4 separate regions of the Homo sapiens genome follow, and all the other regions are linked to region 4. The links are contacts of gene promoters, found by promoter capture Hi-C in blood cells and fetal thymus (Javierre and others, 2016). All regions are on one chromosome and are shown on one strand. Each heading gives the region's core, a stretch centred on a gene start or on the middle of the fragment in contact. The rest is flanking DNA. Distances are from core to core; before and after follow the strand shown.

Region 1 (6,837 bases), core at 162-2,661, 1.8 Mb before region 4:
AGCTCAATAAATATGTGTTGAATGATGAACTATCAACTTTTTGGTCACTATGGGCTTCCTAATTCAATGATTAAGTGAGTTTGATATGCTCTGGCTTGTGAAGATGAACTAAAAAGTGTCAGAGGCTGTGCCCTTTTCCCTTCATAGTAGAGCAGAACCTCTATCCCCAGCACTCACGTCCACTCGGTTACATGTATGCCTCAGTGTCCCCACCAGCCAAACAACAGCAGCCAAGCGTTGCCTTTCATCCACTTGGGCAAGATACTTCAATACCATATCTGGTTTTTAAGGCACTCAGGAAAAAAAAAAATCAATCAAATAAATACTTCTGTGCTTGTGCTTGTACTGCAGCAGTCTGTTCCTCCTGCATTTGGGAAAAAACAGAATTGTATTTTTAAGCATTCCTTAGACTTCGGCTAATTATATCCTACCAAGTGCTGAATTGCCTTACACTAGGAACGTGAAGTCAATAAGGGCCAAGAAAAGTCCGCAGGAGTTGGGGAACAGAAGAGTGGAGCTAGACAATAATATTAAGAAAATAGTCACCTTCATACAGGAATTCCTCAAGCACATGGAGTATGTAAAAAGCATACTTTCTTTTTTATTTATACTCCTCCCTCAACTCCACCCCAACTTCAATAAAAAAGAAATATAAATATACACTTAATGTTGAACAATCATGGAAGACAGACTTTCCCTCTCCAGAAGTGTCCTAGCATGTTATCTACTCCTGAGTCTTGAACTTCAACAAAACAAAGAATCTCTGAGTTTTGAGCTAAAATATGCTTTACTGAAGGTAGGTACAAAAACATTCAGACCACTAACGGCTGATCCAGAACCAGTTTATGACTCACAGATGTTGATTTACTGGTATAAATGTAAGATTTAGAAAAAAAAAAAAAAAAAAAAAAGCCCTCAATTAACAACAACCTGTCTGAGCTGCATTTGTGGTCTCATTTTTCTCTGAGAAAAGGCAACAGTCTCTGTCATACACAGAAACAAGCTTTGAAAGCTTACTTCTAAGGCAAGTGGTTTCTATGTGAGAAGTTTAGTCATTAAAAGTCACACTAGGGAAGAAAAATGCCTGGCACTTCAATATCTACATTATCAAGCAGCAATAAAATGGAAAATTAGAGATAGGAAGGAAAATTAAAATAACTCTCTTAATTAAACTTGGATGCCAAAAAGCCTTAGGGTCAGTTAAGGGACCCAAGCCAGGGGACTCAGATGGTACTGTTGCTGACTGCAGGCTGGCTCTGTGACCTCACCAAAGCCACTTAACCTTTTTGTGTCACAACCTCATCTCTGTTTCAGGGAATAAAATCAGCCCTAGCTCTCCCTAGAATGGAACACAGACTCATTGGCTATTGTTTAGAAGGCACAATAAACAATGAGGGTAGGAGGAGCTGCAGTCAGGAGGGAAGAAGGGAGGGTGGGGTGGGGTTGGGGGAGAGGGGAGGACTTGGGAGCCTGTTTGCCCTGGAAAGCTCAATATAAGAAAACAAAGAGGATAGTAGTGTGGGCTTTGGAATAAGACTCAGGTTCAAATTCTTACTCTACCAACTAGCCAGCTGAATTGCCACAGGTAAGTCATTTAAACAATCCCGAACCTCAGTTCCTCCATGTTTCAACTAGGGATAATAGCAGCACACACCTTTTAAGGCTATTTGAATGATTAAATGAGATAATGTATGCAAAGAATTTAGCACAGTGTCTAGGTGAGAATTAGTATTTGATTATTGTTATTAAGATCTAGTATACGGTAGAATATGTGGGAAATCACATTAAATGTCTGTCTACAGCCATCTCTTTGCAGAATAGCTTGGATGCTCAATTTTCCTGAACGATCTCCAGCGAGAGATAGAACAACTATCACCACATTTCATTTAAAAATCTCTTCAAGACCCTTCCTCAGTTCTTAAACTGGCAACCTGCCCAGCATCAGCCTCACTTGAGAAATTCGAGAACTACCTGATTGGAGAAGAGAACTAGATTTATATTTGTTTTGAGTCACAGAAAAGTGACAGTTTAAATTCTGAAAGAAGATCACATTTGTAGTGCCTCTTTGGAGACAAAACCTTAGGTCTTGGATTTGTCACATGTTAGAGCTCAATGGGAGTTTATCAGTGCTCTCCAAGTCCAGCACTCCTATTTACCAGAGGTGAAAAATGAGTGTGAGTGAGGAAATTATTATTTCCAGGGCCACACAATCTAAAAAAGTCAGTGTCAGTACTAGAACCAGATGCCCTGATAGCAGTTCTCTCCCTGGCATCTCCTTGCATTTACTTTGCATTTCACTTTGGCAGGAGAAGTACCAGACACCCTTGAGACACAAGACAGGATACAATGGACATGGGAGTAGATAGATGAGCAGACTCAATTTCTAGAAATCCAACTTCTCTACACTGGATGTATTGTCTTTGGGCAAATACATTGCAGGATAACCACACTATGGTTCCCTGTGGGAGACAGCTTGGCATGGGCTGTCAGGAGAGAAAGGGCCTGGGTTGGCTCTATTGCTGTCTGCAGTTTCTTTAGACTATAATTATGAACCATTCAACTGCATCTGCAGCCCCAACAATGTGGGGTGGATTGGCCTAATCCACAGACCAAGCGACATTTTAAAATCCAGCAGTTTAGACACGTATTCCTCTTGCAGCAAATCAAACATGGCTCAGACAGGAAGAGGTAAGGAGCTGCCCAAGGTTAGAGGGTTCTGAGGTCTCATCCACACTCAGTGTTGTGTGCTTCCCTGAAGCAGGCTGAGCATGTTGCCTGGAATTGCTGCAAATGCAGAATGCAGGCTACTCTGTGAGCCTTTGGGGATCATGTAATTGGGATTCCAATTTAAATTGTCCTGAATTGGACTCTTGAGGAGGTAGAGGGATAATGGCAATAGCACAGATGGCAAGAGAACCAACATCCTTTAATAATATGAGAGAAGAGGACAGCCAGTCTCCTAGAAGCTCTGCATCCCAGGGCTACAGGATTTCACCCACTGTCCAAGGCTGCAGGTGGTTTCATCCTGGTGGAAGGCTAAGGCCTTCCTCTGATCTTACTCTGCTTTTCTCTTGGGTTACAAAGACAACATCAAACTTCAAAACAGATGTTCTCTGCAGTTGTGGTTTGAATCTTACATTAAGACAATTTCACTGTGGAATCTTTTCCCCTCTCCCCACTACTTTCATTTAAAATGCCAAATCAATTGCCCCAAAAGACTAACATTTACCACCCCAGAGATCAAGAAGCAGAGATAAGTGGAGCACAAAAAGGAGAAATAGCCCTGAAAGGAAAAGGGACGGTGGTACAGGAGGAAGTAGTGGAAGGGAAGTCCTCTGAGAACAATGGAAGTGTAAGTCGAGGACAGAGAAGGGGAGGAGATGAGGAGGTAGAGTCACAGTGATTTTATGTTCTTGTCGTTCTGGGACTTCAGTCCCCAAGATTTCAAAATGCAGTTAAGACCTAGTAAAGTATCCCATACTTTAATTAATTGTCTTGCATGGCCAACAGTCATGGAACTACAGAAAACAGATCAATGGGAGGTCCTCATGCTGGAAGAGATGCAAAGGATCCAGGATAGAATGGAGGTGAAAGGATCTCAGGAGGTCACAGAAGACACAAGGGAAGGTCAAGCTGACAATCTAGGCAGAATATAGAGTGTGTTTCTCAGTCTTTTCCTCACATGGACATTTGCAGTACACAAAGAATTTCCCTCACAGAAGCTGTCACCCCACCCCTGCAAGTTGCCACTTTTCTGCTCAGCTCAAGAGCACACTCCTAGTACATATTTGAATATGCGTGTCAGTCTCCTACACTCTTTAAAGGCAGCAACTGAGGTTCAGTCATTATTACACTCCATGGTGTTTAGCTCAAGGTAGTAAGAGCCCCATAAATTATGTTCATTATTTAATTAATGAACAGTTAACTTCCTAACATCCCCGTAACATTTTTACAGAAAAATGAAGCTCAGATACCAGTTTTGTTTTGCCTAGTTCGGTCTGAAGTGAGACTCAAATTTGCCCAAAGTTTAAGATTAAAGATCCAACCAACTGACTCATTTCTAACTAAAAAGGTCTTCGTAAAGTTTTATTCTGTTCCTCCCATTCCTCCCATCCCCTTAAAGGAGAATGTTGCTAAGATCACAATATTCATTTTACTTTTTATCTAATTTTTTATTCTGAGACTTCATGTAAAAAATGACATTTGGCTCACCACGAAGTAAATCAGTTGTTTGATTGTCAGCCTGGACGTTTTATACATCACGCTATTCATATTCTCAGATGGCTGCTCAGAAGCAGTCTTCAGGAATTTCCGAACTTCGAGTTGAATCTTTTATTTCACTGGCTTCCACAAAGGTAAGATGTACAACTGCTATATACATTATTTGTAAGATAAGGGAAATACATGAAATGAACTCAATTTCCTCCATCTTTATGAGAAAGAATAGACTGTTACATGCTTTATGGTGAGCCAGGGTGCTTACTACAAATCCCTTTCACCTTCTCAAGTTTAATCTGTCAGGACTCCAGAAGCACTGTATTTTGAAATATATCTTCTGGCTATACAGGTGATTCTATATTGAGGAAGGGTATGGGTTGGAAGTAGAAATGGGGGGACATGGGGATGGGCTGAGAGTGAAGATGGGAATGAAAAGGACAGGGAGGATCAAATGGAGCTGCTACAATCTAGCAGGTGGCACAGAAATATAGAAAGCAGCCCTAACCACTTTTGTCGAAGTAGAGTATTGCTCTCTGCACTTTGTTGTTTGTATCTACTAATGGGTAATCAAGATGTTGGAACAGAAAAGGCAGCTGATCTTAAAGCCTAAAAACCAAGGAAATATTGGATTTGGTGAGGGCTCATGATTTCTCCTGAGTTCTGAGGGGGAATCATGAACACACATTATTTTACATCACTTCTTCCAGAACCAGTTCCGTATAAGAGCCCCAAGAAAACATTGATGTGTCACACTAAGAACAGCCTGCTTAGCCAGTAAATATAACATTCTTTGAGTATGTCACTGCAGTCATCCACAAACATTTTACTCAAGAATCTATGCCTATCTTACCTTAGGCATCCTTCAATGAGCAGCATTATAGTGTCATAATGAATTAATATGAATCCTAGCTTCACCAATGCTAACTCTACCAACAGAGGAAGTAAAATGCATAGCACTTTTTAAGTTCCCATGCTGCTTTAAACCTCTTTTCTGGTATGTACTCTCCTGAAAAGGGTGCACAGAATCTGAGTTTCATAAATATGCAGGAACATAAATTCATTAAAACAACTTTAGGGTGTCCAGTGTAATTATTCATATTTAGAATTTACTGAGCATCAAGCATGCCAATGATGTAAAGTTGACAGATTTGAATAAGAAGCTCAAAAAGGGACATGTCAATTTCTCCAGCGTTACAGCTCACATTTGATTCTCAGCTCTTAAGGACCAAAAAGAAATGAAGTCTTCTTTAATTTGCAAGCAGCCAGCTGTGCTCACTCCACATCTTGCATCAGCCCTGTGAAGGAGTCAGAATGTAGTGGATGGTCCTGCCCATGACTCATGAGGTGGAACAGACCCAGCTCACATCTCATCTATCTGGATTGGCTCCCATACAATAAAAATCTTTCTTCCGTTGAGTTGGTGAAAAGAAGAGAAGCAAAATGGGCATGTGTGACGTGTAAGAGGGCGCCATTTAATCAGACAGGCCTGTGAAACACTTTCAAGAGTCCAGGGCTGGCAGTGAGAGGTAATGACAGGTAACGTGCAGAATGAAGAAAGCAGAAAGCATATAGAAGTTGCTTCTTAATGGAAACGTGTTTCATCAGAATGATCAGAAACATGTGTTCTCCCCAGATTGGGAAACCATCTTGAAAGACTTCATCACAAAAAGGCCTTGGGTGGGAAGTACCACAAGGGACCCATCCAGGAGGGGTGGGAGGAGGTGCAGCTGGGTGGGAAGCTGGCAATGGACTGTGAGAGGAAAAAACAAAGGGCAGTCAGCGCTCTCATGGCAGATTCCCAAGAGAGAACCCTTTCCAGGAATTTAAAATTCTGAATAATTGTTGAGAATTTCTAAAAATCAAGAAGATTATAAACTTTTCTTTCAGGGGATTCCACAGCATTGAGAGAGACCAGATGGCTGGCAACAAAATTCCAGATCCAGGAAAGGTCCAGCATCTACATATCCATCCACTTTTAGTGAGCTAATGCTTTCTCCTACAGAGTGTATTTGTCTAATTGAATTGAATTGAATTGAACTGAGGTGTGGAGGTAAAAAGGCTATTGCAAATAAGTGTTCCTGTTTCCAAATAGTCCATACAAAAACCTGCAGTTTCTTGCCAAGCAGAAACTACCAGGCTTTGGTTTCCTCACTATAGAATAAATTTAAACTCTAAAATAACCAGGGAGGCAACATAGTAGAGTGGGTTAAGAGCACAAGCTTGGCAGTAAATAGACGAGAGTTTGAATTTTAGCTTGGCTGCTCTCCAGATGTCAGTCTTTGACCTCAGAAAGCCTCAGTTTCTTCATCTACAGAATGGAGATGCGGAAAGTGCCTAGTTCACAGAGTTGAACTGAGATGAGATGAGATGAATGGGTGCCAAGTGCTTTGCACTGTGCATGATGCAGAATGAAGACTCAGTAACCCTTCACTGCTATTATTGATTTTAAAAATCAGAATTGTGACTTCGGATTTAGTGAGCATAAAATTTTCATGAATGTTAATCCAAACTGTAGTATATAGTATTCTTATGAAGAAATGAGGACACAGTGTCCTATCTTCATGTGCGCTGTTAAAATCATGACATAGTGACAAAGATAAGTTTTGGTCTAGGTATGCA
Region 2 (6,463 bases), core at 3,328-5,827, 1.6 Mb before region 4:
CCTGTCCCCCGGACGAAAGGAGGTTGCTAGCCCCAGAATGTTCACAGTGACCCACCCCTAAGGTGGTCTTGCCGGCGGGTCTCGAAGCTGAGTTTCAAGACCACGGATCTGTTCTTAGAATGAATGCTGTTTGGGGCGGCTGGGAGGAGGGGGTGTGATGGAGATTGGAGAAGCTGAACCCACCTTGGCCCCATCCCAACGGCCCCATCTTGGATCCGCCACTGGGCGAGGGTCTGGACACCTGGCTGGTCTCCACCTCTTGTCAGCCTGCTCTCTCTGGTCAGGATTGGACTCCCTCGGGGTTTCCTCAGCGACGCCGCGTGGTCTGGGGGCTCGGAGACCCTCCTCCTCCCCAACCCGCCCGCCCCCGGCCCTCCCGCCGCCGCGGCCTCCCACGTAGCGTTCTGAACCCGCTCAGCGCTAAGGCAAGAACCAGCGTGGGGAGCGGGCCAGGCGAGCAGAGGCTCTAAATCTTCCTTCACTCTGTGAGTAGATGAAGTCTGAGAAACAAATTCAAAGCAGGCGCGCCTGCAGAGCCTTCCTGCAGAAATATTCCCCGGCATTCAAGCGCATCCAGGGGCGGCTTGAGCTGCCTTGTTTGGCTAAGGTCAGACGAGACTCGAGTTCTCCAATAAAAATAAATCTCAAATTAATTATGGCCTCGAGCGAGAGGCCAGACACTTGAAGCTGCATTTGTGCAGTCTGGAGTTTTGGCGCTTGCCCGCCCACCCCTCCGGTTTTCTCCCGCCCTCTCCTCCTCCCCCTTTGCCAGCTCGGATACCCGCTGCGGCCTCGCTGGACCAGAGGGGCATGGGAGGGGAGGACGAAGGACGGAGGGAGAGGAGCGGCCCGAGACATTCTGCCAGGCCTGGCATCCTGCGGAGTTTCAAGTGACGGAGCCACCCCTGGGTCTGTTACCCCAGGGACCAGGCTCAGATCGTCAGGTCCGCCCACCCCAAACCCAGTCTGGGGCCGAAGAAGCCCGGGAAGCCCGTGTCTGGAAAGTCTTGACCGGGTCAAAAGGGCTGACATTGAGCGAGCCAAGACACGTTTCGACCCGCCGCTCCCCTCCCGGGGGAAGCAGGACTTCCGCATCTTTGAAAATACTGTCAAGTGCGAATGGTGCGAGGCAAGTCGTCTCACCAGCGTTCCAAATGAAAATGCTCCAAATCCAAATATTTCCTGAGTATTCACGCCCATGTGCACGGTTTCTGTAAGTGACCCCAGACTTGGAAACATGTGGTGGGCTGTTTTGTTGTTGGGACATTTTTTTCTCCAGTTGGTAGCTTTTGTTTTAAATACTGGGAAGAGCTTCCTTGGCTGTGAGCTGCCTCTGACTTGAAAACCAGCCCCGAGCTGCTGGAAAGTGAGCTGTCGCCGATGGCACTCATACCAGCTCCTGTTCAGCAGCTCTGCCCAGTCTGGGAAAGGGCGAGGCCATTGGAGCCATGGTAAGCCAGGAAAGAGGGTGTGCACAAGTGTGTGGGCAGGGGCAGCCTTCCCCAAGCTGGGCCCAGAGACTAAGGAAAGAGGAAGGAGAGAAGAGAGGAGGGAGAGGAGAGGGAAGGGGAGGTCTGCCCCACTAACACAAGACAGTTTTCATTTGTAGGCCCTCACCGCAGGCTCTCTATCAATTTGTCTCAATGCAAACATTCAAAATATCCCCTTTGGCTGCTCGTGAAAACAATGTGAGCTGCCAGGATCAAACCATCTTTCCAGATGTCTGGTGGTAACCACATTAAACAGGGTAGACTTGTTTACTATTGTGCTTGGTTAGGGCGCTTCCCCCATCCCCTTTCAGGATTTAAAAAAGCAGCAGTAGCAGTGGAGTTGACCATCAAACCCTGAGTTACATAAAAGTGGGGCAAACTGACCTACGGGCATGCCAACACTGGATGGAGGAAATCCGAGATTCCCGCAGGCATCTAGTCAGAGTTAGGTGGGGTCTTCTTTCTGGGTGGAGACCTCTGTGAATGGACAGGAGCTTCTCCCAGGGGGCTGAAAATCGCCAACAACAGTGGCACCAGTGCCAGTCTGTGAGTCCCAAAGGGCCGGGGTGCCTGTGTCTATGCATCTAGTGGTGCCTGTGCCAGGCTCTCCACTACCCCCCGCCCATCTCCAAAACCATGAAATTGCCGTAGCTTTGGAGAAACAGAAAGTGCGATGGAGTTCCACAGTTAAAAACTAAAGGGCAAGTCTTCAATTTAATCTAGTTCCATATTGAATAATTCCAGTGGGGGAGGCAGCTGGTGCTGAAAGGAATTGGGGGACAGTATAGGAATGTTCGGGTGACTACTGATTAATGTAGTGAAGATGATCTGTCACTTGCCAGACCAACAGGAGTTGGAAAGAGAAACCTAGCCATGGTGTCTGCCACAGAGGGACCCTCTAAAGTGCTAGGAGGAGGGTGGGGGGCAGTCGCCACCTGTGGGATGCCATGAACAGCCTCTGCAACTGGCCAGCACCAGGAAGGGGGGCCTCCTGGTGGTGGAGTTGGAGTCCTTTCTGGCTGAATGAGGAGCAATGTGGCTGGGGTGTGCGGGTTTCTGGTGAGGTCCGGGTGGGAAGCCGTCTCTCCGCATTCTCCTGAAAGCTCTGTTGTAGTTTGAAGGTCGGTAGAGCCTGGGCTGAAAAGGAAACAATTTGGGGTTTGAAAGGATGTAATTCATTCTTCCTTTCCCGTTAACCTCTTTCCTCTCTGGAAAGCACGTGGAAACGCTGAAGGGAGGAGTGAGAGGGCAGGCAGCCTGCCGCGGGGAGGAAAGGGTTAAGCCTGATTTCTTTTAATTGAACTCCAGAACTGGTGGCCCCAGGCAAAGGGGGGGACTGACCCCGCTAGCGGTAACCAGATGTGGCGGTCCCAGGGGAGCCCCGGAGCAGACCCCTGGATTGAGAAGCAGACAGGAGCGGGGGGAGTCAGCCCGGCCCCCATCCCACCATCCACCCCACCCCCACCCCCAACACGCACACCAAGTCTCAATTGCTGGCAGGCTGCACCCGCCACTCCAGGTCTGGTCACGTTCAGACCCGTGTCTGTATTCGAACCCAAAATTGGAGCCGAATTGATGAGACTAATTTCTAGAGAGGGAGGGGGAGGGAGGGAGACGAGTGAGCTCTCGGGCTCAATTGCTCCTGAAGAAATAAAGAATTAATAAGTCACCTTTTTTCGCCTCTGTGGACACCCTTTTGAAATTTTTTCTTCCAATTGACTTGGATCTCCTCTGGATTTTTTTTCCCTCTTTCCCCCGTCGGACTCTTAAATAAAAGTGAGCAAGTCCAAAGCGTGGTCCGGAGAGCGTGGACAAGGTAACCTGTTTTGGATGTCCGGGAGAAGGGAGTCCGGCCGAAAGGGCCCAGCCCCTCGAGGCTGCTCCAACTGGGGCGCGCGGCGGCCCAGGAGGGAGGCGGGGAGGTCTCCGGGTTGGGCCGGGGAACGCCGGCCTCCAGGCTGGGTAGGGAGGACGGTCCAGAGCGCGGGCCTCCGGGTCTCACCCCGGGAAAAGTCTGGGTCTGCTCTGCGCTGTTGCGTGCTGCGCTCCTGGGACCTGCTGACTGTCCTAGAGGGAACGTCCCGCGGTAGTGTCAGTTCCCTGGGGACCAGGAAGGGCGACTCTTGCCTGGGAGTCAGTGCTTGGGCCGTCGGGTCCGGGTAAGCGCTGGGGGTTTGGCTCGAGAAGATGCGGATAGGTGGCCTAGGGCGCCGCGGATCTCCGCCCTCTGCGGGCACCGGGAGCCCAGGGTCGAGGCGCGCCGCCCCGAGGGGCCCCTTCTCCTAACAATGCGCCCGGAATGGAGTCCGCGCCCTGACAGCGCGGGTCAGCCCGAAACCGCCCAGAATCCGCTTCGATGAGTGGGTGAGCCGCTCTGGGAGTCTGCCGCGTCTCGGCAGCGGAGGGCCTGAGTGGAAAAATTCTTATTGGATGCACTTTTTAATGGTTGGTTTGCCTCGGTTTTCGTCCGAGTCTTCCCCGGCAGTAGGCGCTGGGTTACCCGCAGCCCTAGCCAACTCTCCCTCCATACCCCCCCTACCCCACCCCCAAAAAGTTTGTCTCCGGCTGGAAAAAGCATTAATGAACGTATCTGTGGGAAGAAACGGAAAGTGAATGAGTCAGGAGGGCCACCTTCGGCCAACCGCCTCAGGAAAAGCAAAGAAGCCAAAGGTCTTTGGCTTTGGATTTTGGGGGAAGGTGATGGGGGGAGGTTCAGACTTCGGGAATCAGGGCGCGGACGCTGGGCGTGGACCCCGTCATTGTTCCCGGCTAGCTCTTATCTCCCAGGAGCAAGTATCCTGTGTGCGCAGCGCATGAATGTGTCTGGGCATCTCCGCGTATATTTATATAGTGTGTGATGCGAAAAGCAGGACCAGCAGGGGAGGAAGAGGGGGTGTGGGGGGGGAGGGAAGACGAGGGAGAGCAGAGGGGAGAGAAGAGAGAGGAGAGCTCGAGGCGAGAGAGAGAGAGAGAGAGAGAGAGAGAGAGAGAGAGAGAGAGAGAGAGAGATAGGACTTCCTCCCCGATTCGCAAAGTGAAGTCACTTCCCAAAATTAGCTGAAAAAAAAGTTTCATCCGGTTAACTGTCTCTTTCGCTCCGCTACAACAACAAACGTGCACAGGGGAGTGAGGGCAGGGCGCTCGCAGGGGGCACGCAGGGAGGGCCCAGGGCGCCAGGGAGGCCGCGCCGGGCTAATCCGAAGGGGCTGCGAGGTCAGGCTGTAACCGGGTCAATGTGTGGAATATTGGGGGGCTCGGCTGCAGACTTGGCCAAATGGACGGGACTATTAAGGTAAGCGGCGGGGCAACGGACGCGGGCGGCGGGGACCGGCCGGGGAGGCGAAGCGGCGGGCGGGTAGGTGCGGGGCCCGCGTCCCGGAAGACGTGGCCTCTCTCCCTTCCCTCCGCGCCCCGGCTTCGCGCCGGCTCCTCCGGCGCTCGGGTGGCGAGTCCTACTCGCGGGCCAGCCGGCCAGGCGCCCGCATTGAGGGCGACCCTCCCCCGAAATCCCAGCCCCCAAAGTGGAGCCCCGGCCCCCCTCCCACCTCGCTGCCCGCCGGGGCTGCAGGAGGGGACGGCGGGAAACCGGGGGACCCCAGGGTACGGAACGGAGTCAAGGGCGAGAGACCTCGGGGTCCACCACTCCCACCGACACCCGGGGCTCCCGTGGCCCCAGCGCTAGGCACTGGGCTTCCTCTCCGCAGAGGCGGAACACGGCGGGGGCGGGGGCTGCAGTCGCCCGGGCTCGGGTCCCTGCCTGGTGGGCCCTGGGGTGGGTAAGTGGCCTCGTTGCACGAGGGTAGGGGTGCAAGTGAGTGTGTCGGGGGATCTATCTGAGCGGGCTCCTCCAGATGGAAGCCCCTGTTTACATGTCAGCGCTTTCCCTTCCTCTCGGCACTCAGTCGCCCGGCTCTAGGCGCTGGAGAGCCGCCGGCTCCGCGGGACTCCTGGGCCGGCCTCGCCGCCTCTCCGGCGGGGAACCTTCCCCAGCCCCCGTCCGCACAGATCCCTAGCGCCCCGAGCCCCCGCCCTTCGCGCCTAGGCGTGCGCCGGCTCCAGGACCAGGGCTCCTGGAGCTGTCGCCTCCGAAAGGGTCCTGCGTCCTTCGGAGCCGCCTCCGTTGCAGGGGCCGGCTGTGAGCCCGCGCCCCGCGCCCGCCCGGCCATTCCCACCCCAGCCGCCGCCGCCAAGCCTGGGTCTAGGTTGCAAAGTGCAACCCAGGCGGAAAGGTGAGGGTTTGGGTTCGCGTCTCACTTCAGAAAAGTTGACTGCTGTCTCTGAAAGGGTTCGCCAAGTAGGGCCAGGAGCAGAGAGGAGGGACACCCCCTAACGTGACGGGCCTTAGAGGACCTAGGGGAATGAATGGGACCAGGGGTTAGCTTCGAGGCTGCCGCGCAACACCAAGCGGGAGTCTGTCTGGAAAAACTATTAGGCTGGCGAGGTGGGGACTGGCAGAGCCCGCCATTCCCCAGAACCCGAAAGAATCGACTCCCTGCTCAGGGCTCAGCAAGAGAAGGCTAAGATGTTGGGCTCAGAGAATTCAAGAGATTTTTATCTTCTGGGTGGGGTCGTGGTTTTTATTTTCTAAGTTTTTTTTATGAAAGTTTGAAATATGCTGACTTAGGTAAAAGACACCAACCGAAGGAACTTGCAAATCTGGAGATGAGATAACTGACTGTGATGGGTTAAAGGGAGCTATAAGAGCCTATAAGAGCCTGGGTTCCTCAAACCCAAAGTGAGTAGGTGAGAAGTAGGTGAGAGGGGATTCCTGCAAAGACCCGAGAGTGGGGGTCATTGGGCCATTTTATGCCTGTTTCTCTGCTTCCTGTTGATGTGTTCATGCAAGTGTCTCTGTATTTCTGGGTTTAGTAATGAGATGCTCCCCTCTAGAAAACTCCCTCGCCCCAATCAGGACAGTTACCACTTACTCTGAAGGCCTCTTCTGATCCAGAAGGGTGGTAAGATGGCCTCAG
Region 3 (7,222 bases), core at 766-3,265, 1.7 Mb before region 4:
AAGAGAGAAATCTGTTGATTATTTGTTTGCAGTGTTTTGCCTTCTGCCTCACCCTCCCCTAGGTGAGAGGACCTGCACCCACACACCCAGTTTGTTGAAGTATTACTTCAGACAGTCCTTGACCTCACTGGCACTCTGATTTTTCATAGCCCTATGCTGTTTACTTCTATTCTCTCATATTTGTAAACCAGGCGGGGCGCAAATGATTGCTCACCTTTTAGAGATGAAGGGAAGAAGGCACAGACACGTTCAATCCCTGTTCTCTGTTACAAAGCTAATCACTGACATAATCCAAGTGCACAGCCACTTTCCCTTCTCCGACCCAGCGCTGGTTCAAGTTCTGACCCCACTTGCCTTTGAACTCCATTATCGTCCGGGACCGGCCACTGGCCCAAGTCGGTGCTCTGGCCACAGACTGCCAGATGCCAAAGGATCCCACCCCTCTACCAGCTTCCCCCAGGCTCTGCCTCAGGACATCCTTTCACAGCCAGCAACTAGCACCTCCGTGTAAGGAGCCTGCCGGGCAAAGATGCCCCCTCCATAATTAGGCTCTCGGCTTGGCTTCCCACATCCTCAGCAGCGGAACCAGGACGGAAGAGGCTGCATGGATGCCTGAACTGTTTGTTATTTCACTATTGAGTTGGCAAGGATGGAAGTAGTTGATTTACAATTAGAAGCAGCATGCTTCTTCAAATATTAATATTAATAACTGCACTACTGAACACATGAAAAGACCTTTTCATCTTCAAAGCACTTTGCAGACATTAACCCATTAGCTCTCCCTTCCCTCCATTCAGGAACAACAGGTGAGCAAGACTCTCAACAGCAGCAGTGGCCACCCTGCAGCCCTTGTGCACAGCCCACGGCCCCTGAAGAAAAAGCGTTTTCTCTTTGGATAAAAATAGGCCACCAAACCCAAAACCACAACTGATGAAAGAGTTATAGTATCAGTAATTTTACAAATCAAATGGAGCTGATGGAGTTATCATTTTAGAATTGGTATTTCCTGCTGTTTAACAAATACTTTTTTCTCAGTTGCATGGCAGTGGTCTAAAGTAAGAAGGAAAATGGACTTGAGATTAAAAACAAAAACTTACCCAAAAGGTGATAAAGAAATCCTGCAATAGAATGCATTGATTTCAGTGACCCAGCACCCTTTTAAGTTTGCCTGAAGAAAATACTACTTTAAAAGTTGGTAACAGAGACCTTTAACGGTGGGTGAGGAGTCACATACAAAGTGTCACGGCCAGATAAAATCACCGGATGCAGAGGAATTGCCATCGACATCTCCTGCCACTGAGTCCAGCTCTACCGTGGGGACAAGAAATACCTCCCTAACTCTGAGACAACCGCGGCCCACACCCACACCATGTCTCAACAACAGACTTAGGAACTTGTAGATCTTTGGACAACTGCAGGTCAGTCCCAAGACAGAGAAAAACACCAAACAGGCTAGTTTGGCTAGCAAGATTCAAACCTGTAGCAATTTCCTCTCTATTAAAAGCAATTCATTAAACTACTAGCAGGAGAAAAAAGTAAAACAATAGATTTACTAGGAGTGAAAGAGAATAAAAAGAAATTTATATATTTAACTACAGCTTTATTTCTTTGGAAGTGCTCCAATTTGCAAAAAAAAAAAAAAAAAATCAGGGTTTCTGACAAGTAATCTACGGGTATCTAAAACGTGCATGGTTTTACTTTTGTGAAGCAGGGAACATTTTTAAAAACATAGTCTTGCTTTCAGACTATTCTGACGAGGTTAGGAAGTATTTTTGAAAATTGTTAAACAATTAAATGGGAATATAGAAAGACGTGAAAAGAGAAAGAGAAAACTCACTTGTATCCTGAATCTCCCTACCGACTTACTCTTTAATTCCACAGAAATTTTTTTAAAGCAGGAAAAGGAAAATGGACTGAAAAGTTTTAGGCAGAAACTGACACACACCTCACTTACTACTTTGCCGGAGAGCAGATCCTGAGTGAGCTTCCCTCAAAGTCTGTGGTCTCTTTCCAACTACCTGCGGGAATCCTCTGCTCCGTAGCTTAAGAGGATGCAAAGACCATAATGTTTCTAATAGAGCTGCCTCCTTAAATTGGGGGGTGTGGTCAAGCCAGGGAAAGCTGGAAAAAAGGCAGTCTTCCTCTTGCCCCTGGCACCAGGACAGCAGCCACTGGCACAGGCACAGCAGTCTAGGTGGAAAGCACTGTTGATTGACAGTGGTGGCACCAAATCACACATTATTTCGTATTCTTCAAATTGTGCTTCAGCTGAATATAACTCAGCCTTGGAGAGTAACAGGGAGGGAGATGAGCAAAAGGGAACTAGTTCAGTGGGATAACACTGTATCTCACCTCATCATTTGCTGATGCATTTACTCTCTGCTGAATATGTAAATATTCATGCTTCATGTTCCTTGACTTTCTCAATGGAGCCCCCATTAACCTAGGCAAGGTCTCAGGTGAGGGAAAGGGATTGCTTTAGAAACACAGGACGTCCACCACCCAGTCACCTGCTCAGGCTTCCCGTTTCTCTCTAATAACTTGATATGAAATGTGATATTTTCTAAAGAAAAGAAAATAATTTTGTGGAAGAGAGCTGACTGGATATGGACTTGGGATTTCTGAAAAGTAAAGCTAAAAATCCCCTTTTCATATAAGTCTGGTTTTAGGCAATCTCTAAAATAAGGATACTTTTAGCAGCCCTGACTCATGGTCCGTGGTGCAGGAATAAAAGGGCAGAAGTGTTCATACATTTCTCATTTAGGGAAAATGTAAACAATATGAAAATCTTACATCTGTCCTAAGTGAAAATACACAGCATCTTTTATTCACATATTCAGGACTATGGTAAGAATGTTACAGCATAATCTCATTTCTATGAATGGAGTTATTACAATTTTTTTTGAGAAGTCAGTATTTGGCTGCTTAATCTAAGACTTTTATCCTAAAAGATTCCATCTTCTTTGAGTAGGAGGTGGGAGTTAAGATTTGTCATAGTTGGCTTCTTTCTCTTTTTAATAAAGATACAAACTTAGAAAATCCTTGAAAATCTAATAACTGTCATTTGGAGCCATATCATCATCAGCCTTCATTGTATAAAGCTGGCAATGCAGTTAAGATGACATTGTAAGTAAAGCAAGATTTTACTGCTCATCTTCTGCCTTTGCACATTAACTTGGAAGTAAGGAAGAGGTAATGCTATTGGTTCACTTTAGTTTAATAAATTGCCTGTGCCAGGCACTGTTCTAGGCACTAGAAAGATAGCAAGTTTGCATTGTAGTGAGGAGACAGACACATAAATCAACGATCTCCCCCCAAAAATGTAATACATGCTACAAAAGAAGTCTATGAAGAGAGCTAGGGAAGCTTCAGCCTGCCCCTGTAACCCAGTCAATTTCAGCACACTGCCCCATTTAAAGAGCCCACGGTCAATTATACCAATCATAACTAATTACAACTGTATTCACTATGTTTGCAGGATAATTGAAAAAAACAAAGTTGAGAAGACTTGGATTCTTGCTCTATAAGGGTGTACAGTGTGGCTGTCAAGGGGTTCTGAAGTCTGGAGTTGTCTATGCTGAGTTTATATAGAAAGCAACTCTTCAGGACCTTAGCTCCCTCCTCTGACACGGCCTTTTACGGTGTGGAAGAACATAAACTAGAAATCTTAATAGTGCAAAATAAGCCACCACTGTCATAAATTGCCTAGAGAATGCCCAGGAAAACAGTAAGTTTTGTTTTAAACAGTATTTTCAAAAATATAACATTAGATGGGTATCCACATATAAGAGCATGACATTGGACTCCTACCTTACACCATACTCAAAAATTAACAAAAATCTATCAAAGATCTGAACATAAGAATGAAAATTATAAAATTCTTAGAAAAAATCAAAGAAGAAAACTTCATGACATTGGATTTAGCAATGATTTCCTGGGATATGACAGCTTATCCCAGGAAAAAAAACTTGGGCAACAAAAGAAAAAATAGATAAGTTGGACTTTATCAAAGTTTTAAAATGTTGTACATCAAGGGGCACTATTAAGACAGTGAAAGGGAAGTCCACAGAATGAGAAAAAAAATTGCAAATCACATATCTAATAAGGACTTAATACTCAAAATATATAAAGAACTCCTACAACTCAACAGCAACAACAACAAATAACCTGATCTAAAAGTGGACAAAAGACATGAGTAGACATTTCTCCAAAGATGCAGAAATGGCCAATAAACACACGAAAAGAAGGGCAACATCATTAATCATCAGAGAAATGCACATTCGAACCACAGTGAGGTACCTCTTCACATCTATTGGGGTTCCTATTATCAAAGAAACAGAAAATAATGGCAAGAATAAGGAGAAATAGGAATAAGGGTGTGTTGCTGCTGAGAATGTCAAATGGTGCAGCCACTGTAGAAAACAGTGTGGTAGTTCCTCAAAACAATTAAATATAAAATTACCATTTGATCTAGCAATTCAACCTCTACATATATAGCCACAAGCATTGAAAGAAGAACTCAAAAAGATGTCTGCACAATATTGTTCATAACAGCGTTATTCACAATAGCCAAAAGGTAGAAACACCCCAACTATTTATCCACAGATAAATGGATAAGCAAAATGTGGTATGTACAGAAAATGGAACATTATTCAGCCTTGAAAAAGAATGAAATTCCAATACATGCTACAGTATGATGAACCTTGAGGACATTATGCTAAATGAAATAAACCAAATACAGAAAAGACAAATATTGTGTAATTCTACCTGTATGAAGTACCTAGAATAGTAAAATTTATAGAGACAGAAAAAGGGATAGAAGTTAACACAGGTTGGAGAAAGGAGAATGGGGAATTCGTGTTTAATGGGGACAGAGCTTCGGTTGGGGATGATAAAAAAGGAATGGAGATGGATGTGGGTGATGGTTGCACAACATGTGACTGTACTTAATGCCCCTGAATTGTACACTTAAAAATTGTTCAGATGGTAAATTTTACGTTACATGTATTCTACCACAATAAAAGAATATGTTGTCCCGAGGGAAAAAAAAAATATATATATAGCATTAGAAGTCAGTAGGCTTCCGCAGAAGGAATGCTTTCTGATCCACATGGATAATATAGGACAAAAGAAAATGATGCTCTAGAAGAAGAAGGTATGAAATCCCTGGAGGATCCCTCCACTGCACGGTGGTGGCTCCCCAGCCCCTCCCTTATGCCGGCTCTTGAAGAGGGTGTAGTAATACCAGCCCAACTTCACAGGGTTGCTGAAATCACCATGCGATTAGATGACTGTGTAAACAGTAGAAGCAATGCTTTTCTTTCCCATGTCCATAGATAGCTCTATGAGGAAAGACCTCAATTGATAGGGCAATATGACCATTATGATTCTCAAGGAAAAAATTAAAACTCAGTGATCCAGGGACATGGGTACCTTTTGATCCCATGTAAAAGGGATATGCAAAATGAGTTGTTTGCTTCTTTGAAGGAGTATCTCTGTAGCCTCACCTAAACAATCGTAGTCTCAATATAGTTTGGATACAAGTGAGACAGAGCATGAAGGAATTTCTAGAATAGCTTTTCTTACTGTAAGGAAACCTTTTTCCTTTTCTCAGTATAACAAGTTACCTTGTAAGTTAGTATGTCTTAAGAGGAAAAATGGAAGTAAATTCCCAGAATCTTAGCTCTGCAAAGGTCTTCAACGCTCCCACCAGCAACCTTCCCTCACTGCCACCCCAACTCCCTAAAGTGCAGAAGTCCCCTTCAAAGCAACTTATAATGATTCTGTAAAACCACCCGCTGCAGGAAAAGTGTGAAGTTTGAAATTAAAAATGGCATTAAATTTAAGGAAAAGCAAAGCAAAACATTACACACGTATTGCATTTTCCATATTAACTTTCCTTCCATCTCAGAAAAAAGCCTCGTGATAATTCAGAAGACTTCATATGTGCAGAGAACCAGTATCTAAACAAACTACCAAAACCAAGTAGAGTGAAACCCAGATACTATTACAAGCGTGGTTATCACCAAATATTGAAAAGAAAAAGAAAATATGCTGAAAATAAAGCAAAGAGCAGAGAACCATTGTGCATTGCCACTCCAGCTCTGGAACTTCTTAGCCTGTACTTTGCAATGACTCTCTCTCCTTCCCATGATCAAAAGCAAAGCCTTTGTCTTGAGCCACAGCTGAGACTGCAATGGCACACATACGTGTGCACACATCTGGCACACAGGTGCTCATCCTTCTGTGTGTGCCAGAGAGCCTATGGAGACCCGGATTTCTTGGCGTAGTCTTCCCACAACCCCTGATGTGCTGCTCCATTAGTCCTTGCACCAACTTTCTGGTTTTTTCTTCCTCTCTAGAATGTAGAATGAGCTGGGCACAGGCCCCCAGGTAGACTCCCTGCAAAGTAGCTTAGCTAATGTCGGTCAAAAATTCTTCTCCATCCTGGTTCCACTGGGCCTGCTAAACATCCTGTGGACTCCACAAACTCAGAGAGTTTCAGCAGAACGGACCCTTCTGGGATGTATGATAGCCCACTGAAAACCCCATATCTTGCCACCCCCTCCTTCCACCCCCATTCCTTTCTATGTACTTTTTGTCACTCTGTCTCCCTGGTCCCTTCTCCCTCAAAATACTTCTCACTTTTTCTCTCTGTCAGTCTAACTCCTACAAAGTTATTTTTCAATCTCAATTTAATTACAGGATGAATATGCGGTTGTAGCATATTCAAGTCATACAGAAGGGTATGAATTCAAAAATGAGAATCACCACTTCGGGTCCCCTTCCACCCAGTCTCACACCAAAAAGCTAACTACTATTTAGGGTTTGATATCCAGCCCTCCAGTCTTTCCTCTATTCTTATACCCATACTGGGCCTTTTTAATGGGATTGTGTTCGATGTATTGTTCTGGGACCTTCTACCATGCATCCGGCAGTATGTTCAGCAGCTATGTCTTTCCAGATTGGCCCCTTCGGAGCTGCCTCAATCATCTCAGCCAGCCCCCGTAATCCCCTGTGACATCCCTTAAGCTCCAGCTCCAGTCCTTTCTTTCTCTCCCTGTGCTTTTCCACGCAGCTATTGTCTTGCTCCTGCGTTGTCACAATGAGCTATTTAAGTTCCCGTATCTCCTGTCCACGTCTTTCCTGCCTTATCTTCCCCACTAGAATGTGATTCTGGGGGTGCAGGGTCTGTGCCCTTGACATTTCCTTATCACCAGTA
Region 4 (7,551 bases), core at 3,533-6,032:
TAATGAGAATCTATCACTATTTTAAATCACTATTTAAGAAAAAGAGCTGGGCGCAGTGGTGTGTGCCTGTAGTCCCAGCTACTCAAGAGGCTGAGGCAGGAAGATCCCTTGAGCCCAGAAGTTCTGGACTGTAGTATCCTATGCCGATTGGGTGTCTGCACTAAATTAGGCATCAACATGGTGACCTCCAGGGAGTGAGGGACCACCAGGTTGCCTAATGAGAGAAGTGGCCCAGGTCAGAAACAGAGCAGGTCAAAACTCCCGTGCTTATCAGTAGTAGGATCACATCTGTGAATAGCCACTGCACTCCAGCCTGAGCAACACAGTAAATCCCCCGTCTTTAAAAAAAAAAAAAAGTAAGCATGGAATCCACTTCTCTGCTAACTTCTAAAAACTAGTCTTAGTTCTCTTTGCCAGAGGAAGCAGAATCTAATTTTAAAATTTAAAAGTACTTCTATGTGGCTTCACATAACATAATTTGTCTATTGCTAATTCTTCTGAGCTTGATGTGAGAATGTAGTAGATACTAAAAGGAGTATGGTAAAGGTAAACAATACTTCATCTTTAAAAACTAATTTTAATGAGGTTTATCCAAATATAGTTTTTTTTTGTTTTGTTTTGCTTTTGAGATGGAGTCCCGCTTTGTCACCCAGGCTGCAGTGCAATGGCGCAATCTTGGCTCACTGCAACCTCCCCGGTTCAAGCAATTCTCCTGCCTCAGCTTCCCAAGTAGCTGAGACTACAGGCATGTGCCACCATGCCCGGCTAATCCAAGTATAGTTTTAAAACATTATTTTGACTTCTACACTATGTACATACTTTACATATTCAAAAATAAAATCCTAAGTAAAAACTGAAACCTATGAACCATATCAAATTGGTAGCATAACCAGAGAAAAGTATTTCAAGTGACTTTTGAACACAGTACTCATTATACATTCTTCATGCAATATAGTCTAAATACGAAAATAAATGCAAAGAAATCTTAAACTACATGAAGCTTATTGGTATTAGCAATACCAGCACTATAATTTTAAAATGATTTTATGTATACAGTGGGAGAAAGCAAATAAGTTTATTATTTTTTTTGGAGACAGGGTCTCACTCTGTCATCCAGGCTGAAGTGCAGTGGGGTATGAACATGGCTCACTGCAGCCTCAACCTCCTGGGCTCAAGTGATCCACCTGCTTCAGCCTCCTGAGCAGCTGGGAACACAGGCACACACCACCACGCCTGGCTAATTTTTTTATTTTTTATAGAGATGGGGTCTCATCATGTTGCCCAGGCTGGCCTTGAACTCCTGGGCTCAAGCAATCCTTCCACCTCGGCCTTTCAACGTCCTGGGATTACAGGCATGAGCCACTGTGCTTGGCCAGTTTATTAACTGTATTAAAAACCAAGATTTTCATTTAAGACAAGAGACAAATATAGAGTCAAGGAAGAAAAAGTCTGCTTGTTAAATAGGAATTGGAATATCACTCTGAACTCATGATTAAACAAGCAAAAACCTTTTTCTTAGTTCTCTCCTCTCAAAGCACCTAGAAGCAATGATACTGCAGCAGCAACGAATATGCCAAACATCCAGAACTTGGTTTCTATATACGATTTCTCATTAAAAAGAACCAAGACTCCCTGGATAAACAGCTCTTTCCAGAGGTGAGCAAAGAAAGTATAAGATAAACCCTGGAGTAACTCGTGTCAGAAAGCACTCCAAGATTAATGGGGAGCAGGGGTGTCAAGACACACAATAGTCAGCTTGAAATGGTTCCTACTGACCAAATCTGGGACAATTTGGTCATTAAAAAGAAAGACGACTGTAACTGGTTATAAAACAAGGAATAAATTAAAACCCATGAGAGTCTGAAGTGGTATCATTCACCCCTGCCCCAAAAAACATCATTGGGGGTGGCTATTTCTCCAGCTCTTTACTATGAATATTGAAAAGTAAAGAGATTAAATTTAACATTTAATTTGCATTTTGGGGAAGAACAATAGTTTACCTGCACTTAATGAAGGAAATCTCTTCCTTACAGAGAACCTCCAATAACTGATTTAAGCAAAAGTCATCATGGGTGCTAAAAACCACTAAGCAAAAGATTGTCAGAAACTGGGTATTTGCTTAGTGTCCAAGTTTTACCCCAAGATTACATATTAATCACAAACTGGCAAACCACACCTTTACAACAGATCAGTAGTCAGCACTTTAATCAAATGGTTACATTTAGCATCATTAATAGTGTGGGAATCTGACATTGTGTGCCTCCTATATTATGCAACAGGAGGTACACAGCATCACCTATTAAATATTCTTGCCAAAGGAAGTTTTACTTTAAGCTAATTAAGCCTTCCTTTACACCTAACTTCCAGTTAATAGGAAATTCAGGGAGAAAGAGGAATAAACGAAATGACATTAGGAGGGCACAAATCCAGAATGTGGGTATATTTTACAAGACAACTGGTTTGGTCAATTACGTGTCAGAAAAAAAGAAGGGAGGGAATATTCATCCTATTTAATTTCCCCTGCAAAAAGAAGAGGGGATGGATACTCTTCATTTTACAAAATGACTAAAGACTTAATCACCAAATGCAATCAATGCATGAATCTTGACTGACTACAACTGGGGGCAGAACCCTCAAAGACACTTTGGAACAACTGAGGAATTTTGAAGATGGAGTTGTTAATTTTGATAGGCATTAATAATGATACTGGGGTTAGTAGGAGAATGTCCCTATTTTTAGGAAACACATGCCGAAATATTTGAGGATTACAGTGTTTGCAGCTTACTTTCAAATAATTACACACATACAGAGAAAGACAGGAAACAATATGGCAAAAATGCTAATCACTGAGTTGGTTATTCATTGCATTGATTAGCATTTTTATTCATTGCATGAATAACCGATCACAATTGTATAGAACGAACCTCTATACGACTAAAATTTTTCATAACAAAGTTAATAAAATTGTACTTCTATTGAGAAGTACGGTAGAAAGTACACGAAAGTACATCTATACTGGAATTATATTTGGGTTGAAATCTAAACTATCTTACTAGTTGTGTGCCCTAAGGCAAGTTGTAATTCTTCGTATCACTAAGTTTGTCACTTCTATAAAATTCAAGTAATAATATCTGCATCATTAGGTTGTTCTGAGAATTAAATAATTACAAATGCAAAAATGCCAAGCAGTACTGCACAAAATGAATAATCTGGTTTTCATAATTAATCAGTACATTACTAATAATCCTAAAATACAAAACTAAAGGACTACGTTCATTATATTCACATTCTATGATAAGGGGAAACTACATTAGGTAAAATTATTATTAATCCACTGACAGTCCAAGTGAAGTAATGGGGGAAATGAAGATTTATACAGTATTTTTTAAACCCAAGAATTCCAACTGAACACCTAGAGAAAAGGAAATCAAAATCGTGCAGCTTGCTTCCGGTATCAGCCGATCTCCAAATAAAGCATTAAGAAAATAAGTGGAAGTTATGGAGAATTTCTTCCTGACTTCAAGAGATTATCTACTTACACGCTGAAAAAGAAATTAAGTTTTTGTCTTCATTTTTGTAAGTTCCAAAAAAAAGCACACAATTACGGGGTTTTATTGTAAATTCTGCTTGGATTCATAGAACTCACATGGACGCAATTTCCTTTTAATCAGTTCTAACGTACCTGTCATTTCTCGAGGTAACCCCTTTTTCTGATTAGGCCAGCAATAAAACGACTAGATGCAGAGTGATCCTCAGGAAGGAAAGGAAAAGAGGTGTGTGTGTGTGTGTATGTGTGTGTGTGTTTGTGTGTGTGTATATATATATATATATATTTTTTTAAAGAAGTGCCATCTTTTTCTTTCTGTACCAGAGAAAAAGCAGAAGGGGAAAGGAGGAAAAAAAACAGGTCTGAGCCTCCCGGGTTCGACCAGGTGAGAGGTGGCAACACTCCGGCCGCTCCGGGTTAGGGTGTTGGGCAAATGGGCGTGCAAAGGACGGGCAGCTCCCTGGAAGGTCGGGGTAACTGCTCCGGGACCGCGGGGCCCAAGGCCGGTCTCCTCCCAGAAGGATTAAATGCCACCGAGGGGATCCCGTGGGGTGTCTCCCGGCGCGGACTAGGCTGACAGACCCGGCTCTCCGCTCCCTTCGGCGCCAGGTGGGGGCCACGCGGTGTCAGCCACGGGCAGCGTGCAGGGGCCGTCCCCCGCGCGACCGGAGCCCGCCCTCCCCTCCCCGTTACCTGCGGGCGGCGGCGCCGGGCCCGGAGGCCTGCTGCTCCTCCTCCTTCTCCCGCCAGGCTGGGGCGGCGAGGCGGCGGCGGCGGCGGCCCGGGGGGAGGGGGCGGAGCGCGGCTCGCTGCCTCTCTCCTCCCCCGGGAGGCTCAGGGGCCCCTATCTCGGGCCGCCGCGCCTAGGCCCGTGAGCAGCCTGTGGTGGGGCATGGCGGCACAGCCACCGGCGTGCCCGCGAGTGGGAGTGCGAGGAGGCGGGGAGGGAAGCACCCCCAGCGCTCGGAGGGGCCAGAGGGGAGGAGCGAGGGGGCCCGGGAGCCGCGCGCTGGCGACCGTTGGGGACGGTTGGCCGAGGGCAGGCGGTTGTTTGGGGAGCGCGGCGACGGCTCGCGTGTTCCCAGCGGGGCGGGGTGGGGAAGGGGAAGGGGACTGAGGGGAGGGGAGGGGGAGGTTGGGAGGGAGCCGCCGCCGCGCGCGTGCGGCCGGCGCCGCCGCCGTTGCCGCTCCGCTCACTCCAGCCTGTTTGGGGGCACTTTGTTTGTGTCCCACAATGCTCTGCGCCGGCGGCCTGGCTGGGGAAGGGGAGGAGAAGGGGGCGGGGCGGAGCGCGCTCGGGGGCGGGGCTCGGGGCGGGGAAGGAAACGTGATGATTGCGCAAGCGCAGAAAATGGGCCCTCTTGGCCGTCGGGACTTGTACTGTTGGTGACTCCGTCTCCTTAGACGGTGGAGCCTGCGTGACCCAGAAAGGCCGTGAGTCTTGACACTGTATTTTTGCATATGTGCGCACATGTGCCGATTTACATTCACATGCCCCATAAGCCCTGTCCCATTTGTCCTTCCTCTAAGCCGTCCTCTTACCCAGTTCCCCTCTCACACCTGAGAAGCATTTCTCCGCAGGAGTCACATTTATAGCATTATTTTTTTCTTCGAACTAAAAACATAACTCCTATTTTCTCGGGTAGTTTTTGTAGGGAGGTCGAAATAGAAACACTTCAGCCCCTCTTCGGCGAGGGAGGTTAGTTGGTAAGGTGCCCATTGTTCACCCATGGAAACAGGCCTGCCAAGGGCCGCCCCGCAGACAGGTGAGCCCGCGCCCCCGTCCTGGGCGGACTGCGACATGCGGCGGGTGTCTGGATTGCGTGGCTCCTCGGGCCTCCTCGCAGTGCTTGCTCTCTTCCGTTCTAGCACTTGCCTCGGTGACCTGGCAGGACGTGCGGTTCTTGAGATGAGTGGAGAAACGGACTCCCAGGTCCCTCTCGTTCTTCCAACACAGGGACAGCTAGAGCTGCTCCAAAAATATACCCTACTTCTTCCACAACCGTGAATCTGTCATTTTTACTGCACCATCACTTACTTCCTGGCCTTCCCGGAGGAAGTGTGCGGGCCTCCCCGAAGTAACCGGTACCGCCCGGGGGGTTTTGAAGTTCTTGGTCAACTGCAAAATCAATCAACCTAGTTAACTCCTAGGGCCCTAAGTCTTGGCTTCCCCTGGCCAGGCGGGCGAGCGCTCTCCACACCGCCCCCGGAGGTCATAGGGGTTCCCGGGACTGCAGGCGGCAGCGCCCCAGGTGCCTGGGGGCGGGCGGGGTGCGGGCAGGTGCTCCTTGGGCGCTTTCTGTTTTCCCACGCCTCCAGTTTGCAAACCGAAAGACTTCTTTCCAGAGGGTTTTGTGCAAGGTGGGTGGACGTCCCGCTGAAGTAGAGTGGATTTTCCTTTTGAAACACTTGGCAACATCTCACATTAATTCACTCTGAGAGACAAGCAGCCAAGCACCTGAACACCCTGACACTTGCAATCTTCTTTAGGAATAAAGGCAATAAAAACAACTTCTGTTTTTATAGTCCTTCGCAGTTTCCAACAAGTTTTCAAGCATGTATAATGTTATCTAATCCTTACGGCAACTGTAATTCACAGGTTTTATCACAGGTTTCTATTATTATTCCCACTATCATTCTTATTATTCCCATTTCAGAGATGAGAAAAATCAGAAAGATGCGAACTAGGCCCAGAAACTTTTGCACTAAGTTTTGAAGAGGGGAAGGGAAAGAAGGCGGAATGCTTACCTGGGAGAGGACTGGCGGCCACAGAGCAGGGCTCAGGAAAGGGCATGAGCTGGGGCCCTGGTGAGGAATGTGTGAGAATGTATGTAGGTGGTAAGCAACTGGACAAGAATCAGGGTGGAAATGAAGTAGTCAAATCCTATCTACCTCTCCTAGTGCCTTTAACAGGATAGTCAATAAAAGACCATGAGGCAAGTCTTTTCTAAGTGCTTCTCCAGGGGCTGTGGTGGCAGCTCCTCAACTACTACACTGACACAAAAATTTGCTTTCCTTTGTAGTACAACTTGAAGTCAGGTAGAGGAATGCCTCTAGCTTTGTTATTTTTGCTCAGAATTGCCCTAGCTTTTCAGGGTCTTTTGTGGTTCCATACAAATTTTAGGATTTTTTTTTCTAGTTCTGTGATGAGTGTCATTGATATTTTGGTAGGGATTGTACTGTACCTGTAGGTGGCTTTGGGTAGTGTGGATATTTTAACAATATTAATTCTTTCAATTCATGAGCGTGAGATATCTTTCCTTTTTTTTTTTTTTTTTTTTTTGTTCTCTTCATTTTCTTTCATCAATGTGTACACTTTTCCGGGTAGAGATTTTTCACTTCCTTGCTTACATTTATTGCTAGGTATTTTATTTTGCTTTTTTGTAGCTATTGTGAATGAGATTGTTTTCTTGATTTCTTTTTCAGATTGATGGCTGTTAGCATATAGAAAATCAACTGTGCTGGGTGTGGTGGCTCACGCCTGTAATCCCAACACTTTGGGAGTCCAAGGCAGGCAGATCACGAGGTCAGGAGTTCAAGACCAGCCTGGCCAACATAGTGAAACCCCATCTCTACTAAAAATACAAAAAAGTTAGCTGGGAATGGTGGCACGCGCCCGTAGTCCCAGCTACTTGGGAGGCTGAGGTGGGGAATCACTTGAACCCAGGGGGTGGAGGTTACAGTGAGTCGAGATCGTGCCACTCCAGCCTGGCGACAGAGCAAGACTCCATCTCCAAAAAAAAAGAAAAGAAAAGAAAATCAATTGATTTTTGTATCCTTCAACTTAACTGAATTCGTTCATCAAAGTTCTGAGAGATGGAGTCTTTAGGTTTTTCTAAATATAAGAACAAGTCATCTGCAAACAAGGATAATTTGACTTCTTCCTTTCCAATTCAGTTGCCCTTTATTTCTTTCTCTTGCCTAATTGCTCAGGTGAGGACTTCCAGAAATATATTGAATAGGAGTGGTGAAAGTGGGTATCCTTGTCTTGTTCCAGATCTTAG

What was found. The method cuts DNA at HindIII sites, captures the fragments that hold promoters and counts their contacts. A CHiCAGO score of 5 or more calls a contact.
Region 1: the fragment with the promoter of ETS1-AS1 here is called in contact with the fragment with the promoter of ZBTB44 in region 4 in 2 of 17 cell types (monocytes and neutrophils); the score reaches 6.7 in monocytes.
Region 2: the fragment with the promoter of FLI1 here is called in contact with the fragment with the promoter of ZBTB44 in region 4 in 1 of 17 cell types (neutrophils); the score reaches 6.1 in neutrophils.
Region 3: the fragment with the promoter of ETS1 here is called in contact with the fragment with the promoter of ZBTB44 in region 4 in 3 of 17 cell types (neutrophils, M0 macrophages and monocytes); the score reaches 9.1 in neutrophils.

What each region holds. Positions count from the first base shown.
Region 1 is chr11:128,524,731-128,531,567 of GRCh38, forward strand. ETS1-AS1 (ETS1 antisense RNA 1) reads left to right here and starts at 1,412. Exons shown (of 4, transcript NR_120581.1): 1 at 1,412-1,585; 2 at 1,803-2,688; 3 at 4,281-4,355; 4 at 5,408-5,653. The region is part of intron 3 of ETS1 (ETS proto-oncogene 1, transcription factor); the gene reads right to left. LOC124902790 (a long non-coding RNA gene) reads left to right here and starts at 5,659. Exons shown (of 3, transcript XR_007062949.1): 1 at 5,659-5,744; 2 at 6,106-6,196. The HindIII fragment of the contact is 5,425 bases long and covers 1,011-6,435 here.
Region 2 is chr11:128,689,495-128,695,957 of GRCh38, forward strand. FLI1 (Fli-1 proto-oncogene, ETS transcription factor) reads left to right here and starts at 4,578. Exons shown (of 9, transcript NM_002017.5): 1 at 4,578-4,782. The coding sequence starts at 4,765. SENCR (smooth muscle and endothelial cell enriched migration/differentiation-associated lncRNA) reads right to left here. Exons shown (of 3, transcript NR_038908.1): 1 at 6,419-6,463; 2 at 3,161-3,897; 3 at 2,178-2,627. RefSeq lists silencers at 3,637-3,686, 3,707-3,846, 4,530-4,899, 5,120-5,169, 5,210-5,429 and 1 more and a cis regulatory region at 4,066-4,798. The HindIII fragment of the contact is 9,137 bases long and covers 1-6,463 here.
Region 3 is chr11:128,585,543-128,592,764 of GRCh38, forward strand. It overlaps ETS1 (ETS proto-oncogene 1, transcription factor), which reads right to left and starts at 2,016. Exons shown (of 10, transcript NM_001143820.2): 1 at 1,946-2,016. LOC105369565 (a long non-coding RNA gene) reads left to right here. Exons shown (of 5, transcript XR_948163.3): 4 at 798-1,418; 5 at 3,479-4,117. RefSeq lists a silencer at 1,969-2,175. The HindIII fragment of the contact is 9,036 bases long and covers 1-3,364 here.
Region 4 is chr11:130,310,135-130,317,685 of GRCh38, forward strand. ZBTB44 (zinc finger and BTB domain containing 44) reads right to left here and starts at 4,783. Exons shown (of 8, transcript NM_001301098.2): 1 at 4,241-4,783. It overlaps ZBTB44-DT (ZBTB44 divergent transcript), which reads left to right and starts at 4,859. Exons shown (of 7, transcript NR_148980.1): 1 at 4,859-4,981. It also overlaps the pseudogene RN7SL778P. RefSeq lists enhancers at 3,937-3,986, 5,147-5,246, 5,417-5,516 and silencers at 4,077-4,906, 5,817-5,876. The HindIII fragment of the contact is 9,181 bases long and covers 999-7,551 here.